2 separate regions of the Homo sapiens genome follow, and region 1 is linked to region 2. Evidence: promoter capture Hi-C in human tissues and cell types (Jung and others, 2019). All regions are on one chromosome and are shown on one strand. Each heading gives the region's core, a stretch centred on a gene start or on the middle of the fragment in contact. The rest is flanking DNA. Distances are from core to core; before and after follow the strand shown. Region 1 has its middle 15 kb from the start of EFNA3. Region 2 holds the start of DCST2 (DC-STAMP domain containing 2).

Region 1 (5,705 bases), core at 2,921-5,420, 59 kb before region 2:
AGACAGAGTCTCGCTCTGTCACCCAGGCTGGAGTGCAATGGCAGGATCTCGGCTCAATGCAACCTCTGCCCTCCCCAGTTCAAGCAATTCTCCTGTCTCAGCCTCCTGAGTAGCTGGGATTACAGGCACCCGCCATCATGCCCAGCTAATTTTTGTATTTTTGTAGAGACAGGGTTTCACCATGTTGCCCAGGCTGGTCTTGAACTCCTGACCTCAGGTGATCCACCTGCCTCAGCCTCCTAAAGTGCTGGGATTACAGGCATGAGCCACTGCATCTGGCCCCCTATTCCTGTATTCATTTAGAGTTCTGTTTATTTCTTACTAGCCAATCCCTTCTAACCTCAATTCCTTGTTAAGTTAATACCTTTTTACATTAGACTGCATGTGGTGGGTCACACCTGTGATTCCAGCACTTTGGGAAGCTGAGGTGGGAGGATTGCTTAAGTCCAGGAGTTCCAGACCAGCCTAGGCAACATAGGGTGACCCTCTGTCTCTACAAAAGAAATGTAAAAATTAGCCAGGTGTGGTAGCACACGCTTGTGATCCCAGCTACTCAGGAAGCTAAGGCTGGAGAACCACTTCAGCCCAGGAGGTGGAAGCTATGGTGAGCCATGATTGCACCACTGCATACCGGCATGGGTAACAAAGCAAGACCTTGTCTCAAAAAAAAATTTTTTTTCTTTTTACATTAAACTTTCCCTGTTCAAATTGCTGTGTGGTTTCTGCCTCTTGACTAGATACTGACTGATACATGGGACATCAAGTAGAGTCATCAGATGATACTGCCTCAGTGGTGAGAGCAAATTAGCCTTAGACCAAAGGCTATTCTCCTCTTGCCAAATGGTACCTAAAAGCACACCTTAAAAGGATCAATCTGTTTCCAAGGAACTTAACTAAGTCCCTGAACGAGGCTCAAATATATTCAAAGGAATACAAAAAAATCTAGCACCAAACAACATAAAATATACAATGTCTGGCATCCAATCAATAATTACCAGGCATGCAAAGACACAGGCAAATAATGACACAAAGCTGACCCAGAAATGTCACAGAATTAGTAGACAAGGACTTTAGCTCCAATAGCTATTATTAAATACCATCCATATATTCAAACAGATATGGAAAAACATAAACACGATGTAAAGAGGTGTGAAGATATAAAATAAGACCTCAATTGAACTTCTAAAGATGAAATGTATAATATCTGAGATGAAAAGTATACTGGATGGAAATAAAAGCAGATTAGACCCTGTAGAAAACAGGTTTTTGAAGACTTAGCAATAGAAACTATCCAAGATGAAACACAGAGAGGAAAAAAAGACTTAAAAACAAAAAACAAAAAACAAAAACAAAACCTCCAAAACCAAAATCCAGAAAATCAGTGAGCTGTGGAATAACAAGTAGCCTGTATACCTGTTTGGAGACCAGAAACGTGGGTCTAACAGATTCACAGGAGAGATGACAGAAAAAATATCTGAAGGAACAATAATTTTCAAATTTGATGGAAACTATAAATCCCTATGTCGAAGAAGCTCAATAAACCCTAAGCAGAAGAAATATGAAGACAACTACACCAAGGGTACATCATAATCTGCCTTAATCACTGCTGAACACCAGTGATAAAGACACAAATCTTAAGAGCTGCCAGAGGAAAAAAACACATTGTGTAAAAAGGAAAAATAGAAGTGATTTCTCGTCAGAAACAATGCAACCCTGAAGACAGTGGAGTAATGTCTTTAAAGTACGAAAAGATAAAAACTGTCAACCTAGAATTCAGTGGAGATATCTTTCAAATAGGAAGATGGAATAAAGATGCATTCAGACATTCCAAAATTGAAAGAATTCATCATCAGTAGACCTGCACTAGAAGAACGGCTTTAAAAAGTCCTTCAAGCAGAAGAAAAATGATACCAGATGGAAATCTCCGTCTACACAAAGGAATGAAGAGAGCTGGAAATGGTAAATATGTGGGTAGATAGAAAAGATATTTTTCTGATTTTAAAATTCTCTTTAAAAGATACTTGAGGGTTTAGAGCAAATCTAATAATGTATTGTGGGGCTTATAGCATGTGTAGAAATAAATCCATGGTGACAATAGCACAAAGGCGGAGAGGTGGGGAATGGGAGGAAGGTGTTTGCGCTGAGTGGTGTGATATTACTTGATGGAGATAGACTATAAGTTAAAGAAGCATTGTGTAATCCTAAAAGAACCACAAAAAAATGTAAGTGTAGTATTATGAACCAATAAAGGAGATAAAATGAAGATCACAAGGGGTGTGCTGGCCACCCCCTTGGCACACAGAACAGTTGGGTGGAGTTCCCCAGCCCAGCAGGGTCCCATAGAGCCTCTGTAGGTGTTTGGGATAGAATGAGTACCGTCAGAAAGAAACTTCCTCTCCTGCCACCTTCTGGCAGTAAATCCAGCCTATTTTTAACTCAGGCCTCTGCTTAAGTGCTTTTGGCTAAAAGAGAATTGCTGCTTCTAAGAATCTCAGGCAGCCACAGTCTCCTCGGCTTCTCTGCTCGCTCCAGCCCTAGAAGGCTCAGGGACTGCTCAGATGTCCCCGGCTTCCCAACCACTTGTCCCAGGAGAGGAGGCTCCCTCAACTCTGGGTGCTCACTGTGGGCACCCACAGACAGGCAGCCCTTCAGCAGGGTGCAGGTGTGAGAGGATCTCTAAGGGATGTCATCTCATGGAGACTGCGGGGATGGTGCCACGGAGTGGTGTGAGGGCAGCCTGGAGCGAACAAACTGCAGAGTGTTGCTCCAGGAGGGTGCACATGTGTACAAAGGCGCCCTGTGTGAAAAGGGCGTGCTCTGTTGTGAGTGTGAATGTTTTTGTGACTGCTTATGCTGTGAAACATAAACACAGCAGCCTCCGTCCTTTTGATCATGCTGCCCCCTCTGCTGGCCTGTCTCCCCTCGTAGTCCCTCCCAGCCAACACCCACACCCTAGCTGGCAAACTGCCAATCATCCCTCAAGCCTCTCATCTCTCCCAAAGTCTTCCCTGACAACTCTGGCCAGAGGCCCAGCCAAATGGCCGCCAGACTCGGGGTTGTATACCCAGGGGTTAGCATGATGCCTGCTGTGTGCTTAGCCTGCAAGGAGGGAGGAAGGCTCTTAAGGCCTCTTTTGGGGGCCGTATTAGGAGGGCACTGAGAATATTTGCTTTTTCCACTGTCAGACCAGGTCCTGCCAGGCCCTGAAGGGCACCCAAGTGACAAGCCTGGGGTCACAGAGGGATGCGAGGGTCACCCTCCATGCCCAGTGTGCTTAATGGTGCAGAGAGGCCAGGCCTGGGGTCTGTGCCCAGAGTGGGCAGTGCTGGTGTCCAGGTGGTCAGATATGGGCATGGCCCCACGTGGAGTTGGACAGCCTCTGTTGATTTCTCCTCAGGGCTCTCCCTGGAGGCTCAAGGTCTGGCATCTGTGTATGTGTGTGTGTGTGTGTGTGTGTGTGTGTGTGTGTGTGTGTGTGTGCAGGCATGTCTGTGGTGTGGGAAGAGGGCTTTCTCCTGTCTCAAGCTTAGCTCTTACTCTTCCCAGCCCCCTCTGCTCCCCACCATTGTCTTCTCCTTCACCAGCACAAGGCAGGAGTGGGTAGGAGGTTCCCAAGGTCCCTGGGAAGAATGTGGTGGGCACTGCGTGTGATGTTGGGTGTGGGCACGTATCTGTGGGTGCACATATGGATGTGATTGAGAAGCCCCTGCCTCTCCTTGTGTTTGTGTATGTGTCTGGGTATATCCTTGGGGTCCTAGAGGTTGTTTTTGTGTCTCCTGTGGCTGTTGAAATGACCTATCGGTTTCCAGAGGGTGTGAATGTGGCTCTGATCTACCCCCTCCCACCTCCTCCCTCTTCTGATTTTCTTGACTCTAGGGTTTGCCCAGTTGGCTTGGCTGGGATTGTCATTGGGTCCGTGTTAGAGAATTGTATCATCTGTTGAATGCCAGCCCTCAAGTGTGTCACCGTATGTGACCCTGGATGCAAGCGCGGCTCAGGGTACCTGGGAGCCCCTTGCCCTGTGTGGGGTCTGGTGCCTGCGTGAGTGTGTTATAGACAGTGGGGCGTTAGTATGTGCCTAATACCCATGAATGGCTTGAGTGTGACGGCCGCAAAACGGGTCGAATGTGCACACATGGATGTGTGTGCAAGTGATGGATGAGTGTGTGTGCGTGTTCCCTCCTGTGGGTGCCTGGACTGGTCCCTCAGTCCCGTGGGGGGCCTCTCCCACTTCAGTGGTGTGAACAAAGCCCCTGCTTTCCTCCCTGCTTTGCCCCCCAGCCCCCTCTCCCTCAGCACCGAGTTTGATTGACTGTGTGTGGTTGCAAGGTTATGAGATTATATGATTGGTGTATGGCATATGAAGTGTATGCCATTGAATGTGAAACTCTAGTATCCCCTGGCCAATGCCAGCCTCTCAGAGGCAGGCTGGTGGACCTCCGGTCAGTTGAACCTAGCTCTCCCAGGTTCCTAGGCTGGCCCATCCATCCTTTTATAGCCAGGCTTGGCCCCTGTAATTACCTGGGGCCAGATGCTGTGGCGAAGGCCAAGAGTTTGGTGCTAACACTCTGGGGAGGAGTCATATCTGCCCCTCCCCCAGGCCACACCGGAGGAGACTGGAGGAGGCCAGACCTCTTTGGAGTCAGATCACAGGCCACATCACTAGGTTCAGCCTGAAGCTGCTCTGCTGCTCTGGGCCCAGTGTGTCTCTGGCTGACCTGGCCCCAGCACATCTGGGCTATCCCATCCGCGTCACACTTCCCCAGACTGTCGTCCACAGGCTGCAGACACCGAGCCTGTGTTCCCATCACCTCCCACCTGGACCCCTCTTGCCAGTCCATGCCCCCAACCCAGCTCATGCCCCTCGTTCCCCCCCTCCATATCCTCCCGCCCCCCTCATCCTAGTCCTTGTCTCCTGGTCCCAGCTTGTGTCCTTCATTCCAATCCATGGCCCCCCAGCCCCGTCACCACCACCTCCAGTCCACGCCTCTGTCCCTGCCACGTACCTCCAGCCCAGTCTGTATCCCTGGTTTGCCAGCTGGACGGAACATGGAGGTTGAGAGAGAATGGCGAGATTTGCGTGCCGAGTAGGTCTGGGCTGGACGGCTGTGGACTGAGCCCAAGTCCACTCCCAACCCCATGGCATCTACAACTAGGGGAGGAAAAGAAGAGAGTGGGGATAAGAGAAATGGACGGAGAGTGGGCTGGGCCTTAGCCCACCCTGCCCCAGGCCTGAGAACAGAGGGTCCTACGGCGCAGCTGCTTGAGTCCCCTCAAGGACCAACACCCGCTCCACCGACCGCAAACCCATCCCAAGCTCCCCTCACAGCTCCGGCGAGTCCCAGCCCAGGTGCTGCGCCACCTGGTGGATATCGGCAGACTTGCAGGCCCCGAGTGGCAAACCCACGTGGCAGCGAGGCTTAGACCCCAGCCGGGATTGTAAATAGCTCCTTCCCTGCTACCCACAGCGCTGCTGGAGTGACCTCTCACCCCGAAGGGAGGGGCGGGGCAGCTCTGAACTTTACTCTCCAAGCCAAAATCTCTGTTCAGTTGTTTGATGTTGCTGTTGTTTTTCACCCTGGGGAGGACGGGAAGAGGAGGGATGTGTGCGATCTCTACCTGTGTTGGGGGCATTAACCTGTGACAGCCTCTGGGAATGCCAGCGTGTCAGGTGGGAGCCCTCTTTGTGCCTGTGCTGGAGGGGG
Region 2 (5,860 bases), core at 2,608-5,107:
TGGCTGTCTCAACTAAAAATATAAAATTTAGCCAGGCATGGTGGCAGGTGCCTGTAGTCCCAGCTACTCAGGAGTTTGAGGCAGGAGAATTGCTTGAACCCGGGAGGCGGAGATTGCAGTGAGCTGAGATCGTGCCACTGCATTCCAGCCTGGGGGACAGAGCAAGACTCTGTCTTAAAAAAAAAAAAAAAAAAAAAAAGACCAACAATGTGGATTTCCTGGAAGGGGAGAAAAGTGGTTGGAATGGGCAGGCAGAGAGGGAGAGTCTGTGGAGAGGATGGGTGTCACATGTCAAGTGAGAGACTCCAGGAGTCCAAGAGGCTTCAGGGACTGGCGCTGCAGGAAGGGGAACCTGCCTGGTCTCTGTAGACTAGACTCCTGCTGAGTGCAGAGCCTCATGAGGCCACTCCAGGGCTCCCACCAGAGCACAGAGTGGAGGGAGAGCTCCTGGGAGAGCTCAGCCTCTGTAATGCCTCTGTAGACCTCCCCTGGACGATGTTGGCACACAAGCATGGAGACTGGCATCTGCTTCTCATCAGGGCAGGAGAGAGGCAACCATAAGGTGCTCTGCTTTTGATGGGGCGTTGGTGGCTCACGCCTGTAATCCCAGCTCTTAGGGAGGCAGAGGCGGGAGGATAGCTTGAGCCCAGGGGTTTGAGACCTGCCTGGGCAATATAGCGAGACCCCATTCTCCACAAAAAGGAAGGTGCACTGCTTTCTCTGCCTGGCAGGGCACGGACGTGTGCACTCCCAGCCTGCTGGAGGGAGGGATCCAAAAAGCAAGAGGCTGTGGGTGGCCCCTGAAGGGGGGCTTCACTCGAGGTCAGCCAAAAAGAACTGCCCTCTGCAAGAAACCGGGCATTGCCGAGGTCCACACACAGCCTCCAAGGGGACAATAATCAGGCCTACTGGGACAGCCAGGGTGTGAGTGCCTGCTACACGCAGGCATCCACAGTGGAATTATAATAGCATTAGTGACTTAAGACTTTTGTCCCTTTTCCTCTAATTCTTCTAATCTCCCTTCTGACATCAGAAGAACCAGAAAGGGAAGGAAGTAGAGGAAAAAAGGGAAAGAGCAGGCCACGCCCCTTCTCCATTGCAGGACCCCATGCTAGGGAGCAGGCCTGAGCTGGGGGCGCAAGGGATGGGGAGGGCAAGATAAGGAGGGAAGATGCTTGAGAATGGATGAGGTTAAAAGTCTGATGTAGAGTGGACTGGACCTCTTTAACCCCTAAAAATAAGTCTTAATTGTTGAAGTAGGACTAGGTCTTCTAAAGAAATACAACCAGAAATCTAAGGGGCTGTGTGAAAGGTTATCAATGGGAAAAAACATGTTTGAATACAGTGGGTCAGAGAAAAAGTAGTCTCCTGTTGGTATCCAGCAGGATTAATTCAATAAACAGGTGATGAAATGCTAATTCTATTTCCCTTGCCTGGGACAGGTTCAGGAAAGGGCATGTGTTGCACGCAGTTCTGACCAAAGAGATGTGAGGAAGTCTACTGTGGGGATTATAGGCAAGTTTCCCTTGTTCCTAAAAAGAGACATGAGGAAAGGATGTTTCTTCCTTTTTTTTTTTTTTTTTTTTTTTTGAGACAGAGTTTCACTCTGTCACCTAGGTCATTTTCCTTTTTCCCTGGCCTCAAATCGCACAGCCCAAGACAGTGAAGTTGGGCCTGGGATTGAACTTCTATTCTTTTCTTTTTTTTGAGATGGCCTTTCGCTCTTGTCACCCAGGCTGGAGTGCAGTGGCACGATCTCCACTCACTGCAATCTCTGCCTCCTGGGTTCAAGCAAGCCTCCTGCCTCAGCCTCCCAAGAAGCTGGGACTACAGGTGTGCACCACCACATCCGGCTAATTTTTGTATTTTTAGTGGAGACAGGGTTTCACCATGTTGGCCAGGCTGGTCTCAAACTCCTGACCTCAGGTGATCCACCCGCCTCAGCCTCCCAAAGTGCTGGGATTACAGGCGTGAGCCATTGTGCCTGGCCTGTTTCTTCCTCTTTTTTTATTTTTTTCTGATCTTTGATATTATTGTATGAAGATGTGATGCCAGAGTTGCTGCAGCTATCTTGTGACCTGAAGAGAAGTGGTCAATAGACTGAAGATGGCAGAGAAAAGACAGAAGGAACCTGAGTCCTTCTCGAAGCTACTGAGCTGTTAAATTATCCAAACTGGGCTGGGCACGGTGGCTTACACCTGTAATCCCAGAACTTTGGGAGGCCGAGGCAGGTAGATCTTTTGAGGTCAGAAGTTCGAGACCTGCCTGGCCAACATACAGAAACCCCGTCTCTACTAAAAATACAAAAATTAGCTGGGCATGGTGATGGGTGCCTGTAATCCCAGCTACTTGGGAGGCTGAGCAGGAGAATGGCTTGAACCTGGGAGGTGGAGGTTGCAGTGAGCTGAGATTGAGCCACTGCACTCCAGCCTGGGCAACAGAGCGAGACTCCGTCTCAAAACGAAAACAAAAACATACAAACAAAACCAAAGCAAAACGGCTGGATGCTTGTCATCCTTGTTTACTGCTAAATCCTCAGCAGATTCTCAGTAAGTGCTGAGTGAATGAATGAATGAATGAATGAATTTAATTTCTTAGGAGGATCAGAAAACGAGGTCAGACAGGTCAGGAGAGATGAGAGTTATGAAGGGTTATGGGGTTGGACTATATCATGTGGGTGATGGGGAGTCCCTCGGAATGGAGAGACTCCCTCAGGGCAAGGACGGTGTCTTCCTTCTTAAATTGGCAGCCTCTTCCCTCTGGACCTCCCCGTAAAGCCCAGGAGGAGGCGGAAGCCACAGGGGATGTATGGGTACAGAAGAAACAAGTCCCGACTCCTTCCTGGGCATGCAGGACGGCGCTGTGTTCCACAGGCCGCTTGAGTGTTCCTGGCTTTTGCCCAGCACTAACCCACCAAGCTGTACAAGAACATAATCTTCTGTTCTTCGTAGATGTTCATGGGGTTCACCAGGAGCTGAAAGAGACCTAAGGGCACAAGGTCAAGCCAAAGGCCAAAAGATGGGTCCTAGCCCTGGTCCAGCCTCTGCCCACCCCGAACTTTCTGCTTCCACACTCACCTATGGCCAGGAGCCCCCCAGCGCCTGCCCCCAGCAGGAGAGCAGTGACAGGAAACTCGCCCGGCTGGCGCCACAGGAACCAGCTACAGGAGACTGGCAGCCCCCAGGTCAGGAGCCTCTGCACCGCTAAGAGGGGGACAGGGTAGCTCAACAGCCCACTCTTCTGCCTGGGATGGGGCTCATTAGGATTCAGGGCTTGCAGGTGGATAGAGGCTGGGGAAACCTGGCATGTGAAACAGTAGGAACTTAGGGGACCCTGGAGGAGGATGAGGGAGCCTGAGGAAGTGGTATGGGTGTAAGGGACAGCAAAGGCAAGGGCTGGGCTGGGAGGCGGGAGGCACTAGACCAGAGAGGTGGTGGAGGCGCGGACACCGAGTTGGGGGATAGTGTGCAGGAGTTCCAGGAGGAGAGATGGGATGAGAGTGGAGGTCAAGGGATACTGGGTCTCTGCTGAGTGACTCACTGGTATGAGGCTGTTTTCTTCTTTGCCCTCTTGTGCCATTCTGATGATGTTTAATGTCCATGAGTCTGTTTTGGGGAAGCACCACTCATCCCAGGTCTCCTGAAGGACCTCCTTGGACACAAGGTTCTGGTGAGAGAAGAGAGGTGCTGCCTGTCTCTTCCGCTTCATGGGAAGCCTAGGCCTGAGCTCTGGGCCTTTTAATCCTTCTGCTCCGAGAAGTGGGGAAGGAGATTAGAGACCTACCTATCCCCTCTCCAGTCCTCGGAACTGGGTCAAGGATTCCAAGACATATGCAGTGAAAGCCCTTTGGAACCTTAGAATACGGTGAGAAATTCCAGGAGCACAGAAGTCAGCGGGCATCTCCTGGAGACAGGCAGACATTTGGTCTCAGCAGCCATGCCCAAAGTCATGAAGGATGTTGTGCACCCCTTGGGGGGAGAGGAGCCTAGCATGGCGAGAGCTGTGGTTCGCAGCGTGGGAGGTTTTACCCTGGGCTTGTCTTTAGCCACGGCCTACGGGCTTCTGGAGCTACTGGTGGAAGGCCACAGCCCCTGGGGTTGCCTGGTGGGCACCCTCACTTTGGCTGCCTTCCTTAGCCTGGGCATGGGATTCTCTCGCCAGGTCCGAGCCACTGTCCTCCTGCTGCTGCCTCAGGCCTTCTCCAGTGAGCTTGGCACCCAGGGCTAGGGGGCAGGTCCTGGGGCTGGTGCTGGGGCAGAAGAGATGCTGGAGGAGAGGCAGGGGTTAAGGGAAATATTCTGAAGGCTTATGTAAGGGACTTGCTGCCATGTTTGGGGCTGGGGTCTTGGTTCTAACAAAGCTGTCGCCCCCAGGGCAGGGCCGGACACTACTGTTGGTGGCTGCTTTTGGGTTGGTGCTTCAAGGGCCTTGTGCCAACACTCTACGCAACTTCACCCGGGCCAGCGAGGCTGTAGCCTGTGGGGCAGAGCTGGCCCTGAACCAGACCGCCGAAGTGCTACAGAGGGCCAAGCAACCTCTTGTCAGTAAGTCCCCCACCTCTACCACTGTCTCCCACGGGCCCCCCTCGCCCCCCTCATCCTGCATGTTCTACAGTCCTTTGGCCTCCTTCTCTGCTGGTGCTAATCGCGGAGCATCTGGGCCTGGAAGGGACTCTGGGCACAGCTAAACCCTCTCTCCTTGCTCTCTGGCCTCCTCCACTCCCAGATTAACGATCTCCCAGGCCCCAGAATCCAGGCTTCCCGCCTCTGGAAATGGTGGCCTCCTCTCTACTCCCTGCTTAAGGGGCAATGGTGAGAACCAGCCCCTAGAGGAGAAGACTCCAAAGTGCCTCTGTCCCTCACCCATCAGGTGCCCTGAACAAGATTAAAGCTATTGCCCGGAAGACCAAAGAGGTGGCTGACCGGGTCCGCAAGTTCTTTCGGTCAATCATGGATGGTGTGAAACACATAGGTAAGCACATTAGCATGTCTATCCCGGGGACTCAAAATGCACCCAGTCCTGGCCGGGTGCGGTGGCTCATGCCTGTAATCCCAGCACTTTGCGAGGCCGAGGTGGGAGAATCACTTGAGCCCAGGAGTTTGAGACCAGCCTTGGCAACATGGCGAGACCCTGTCTCTATAAAAAATAAAAAAATAGAAAATAAATAAAACTAGCCAGATGTAATGACACATGTCTGTAGTCCCAGCTACTGGGGAGGCTATGGTGGAAGGATCTCTTGAACCCAGGGGTTTGAGGCTGCAGTGAGCTATGATCGTGCCACTGTACTCCAATCCAGCCTGGGTGACAGTGTGAGACTCCATCTCTAAAGAAAAAAAAAAGCGGGGGGGCCAGGTGCGGTGGCTCACACCTGTAATCCCAGCACTTTGGGAGGCTGAGGCGGTGGATCAGGAGGTCAGGAGATCAAGACCATCCTGGCTGACATCGTGAAACCCCGTCTCTACTAAAAATACAAAAAGTTAGCCGGGCGTGGTGGCACGCAGCTGTAGTCCCAGCTACTCAGGAGGCTGAGGCAGGAGAATCTCTTGAACCCAGGAGGCGGAGGTTGCAATGAGCCGAGATCACTCCACTGCACTCTAGCCTGGGCAACAAGAGCGAAACTCCATCTCAAAACAAAACAAAACAAAACAAACAAACAGAAACAAAAAAATTCAGTCTCCTCACCTGTACCCTGTCCAGGGTTTTTTGGGCCCCTTCTGGGCGCTGGCTAGTGTTCACTGGACACAGCACAGCCAGGTCCCTGACCACAGGCCTCTCCAGCCCTGGATACTGTGGTATTGTTCCCCAAAACCCTGAGAAGAGGCTGTAGGATTCCAGCCCTGGGTGCCAACCCTGCAGCTGT

Evidence for each region. Contacts are between HindIII fragments. The study calls those that stand out against the background at their distance.
Region 1: a contact is called between a fragment that was not itself captured here and the fragment with the promoter of DCST2 in region 2, in 1 of the 25 tissues and cell types used here (adrenal gland).

The regions. Positions count from the first base shown.
Region 1 is chr1:155,091,278-155,096,982 of GRCh38, reverse strand. No RefSeq gene overlaps it. Among named protein-coding and RNA genes, the nearest start is that of EFNA3, 15 kb to the right of the region's middle. RefSeq lists an enhancer at 2,851-3,465. The HindIII fragment of the contact is 5,721 bases long and covers 1,310-5,705 here.
Region 2 is chr1:155,031,778-155,037,637 of GRCh38, reverse strand. It overlaps DCST2 (DC-STAMP domain containing 2), which reads left to right and starts at 3,857. Exons shown (of 15, transcript NM_144622.3): 1 at 3,857-4,204; 2 at 4,374-4,544; 3 at 4,870-4,971. The coding sequence starts at 3,937. It overlaps DCST1 (DC-STAMP domain containing 1), which reads right to left and starts at 3,814. Exons shown (of 17, transcript NM_152494.4): 1 at 3,784-3,814; 2 at 3,541-3,666; 3 at 3,078-3,203; 4 at 2,911-2,985. The coding sequence starts at 3,601. The HindIII fragment of the contact is 8,066 bases long and covers 1,262-5,860 here.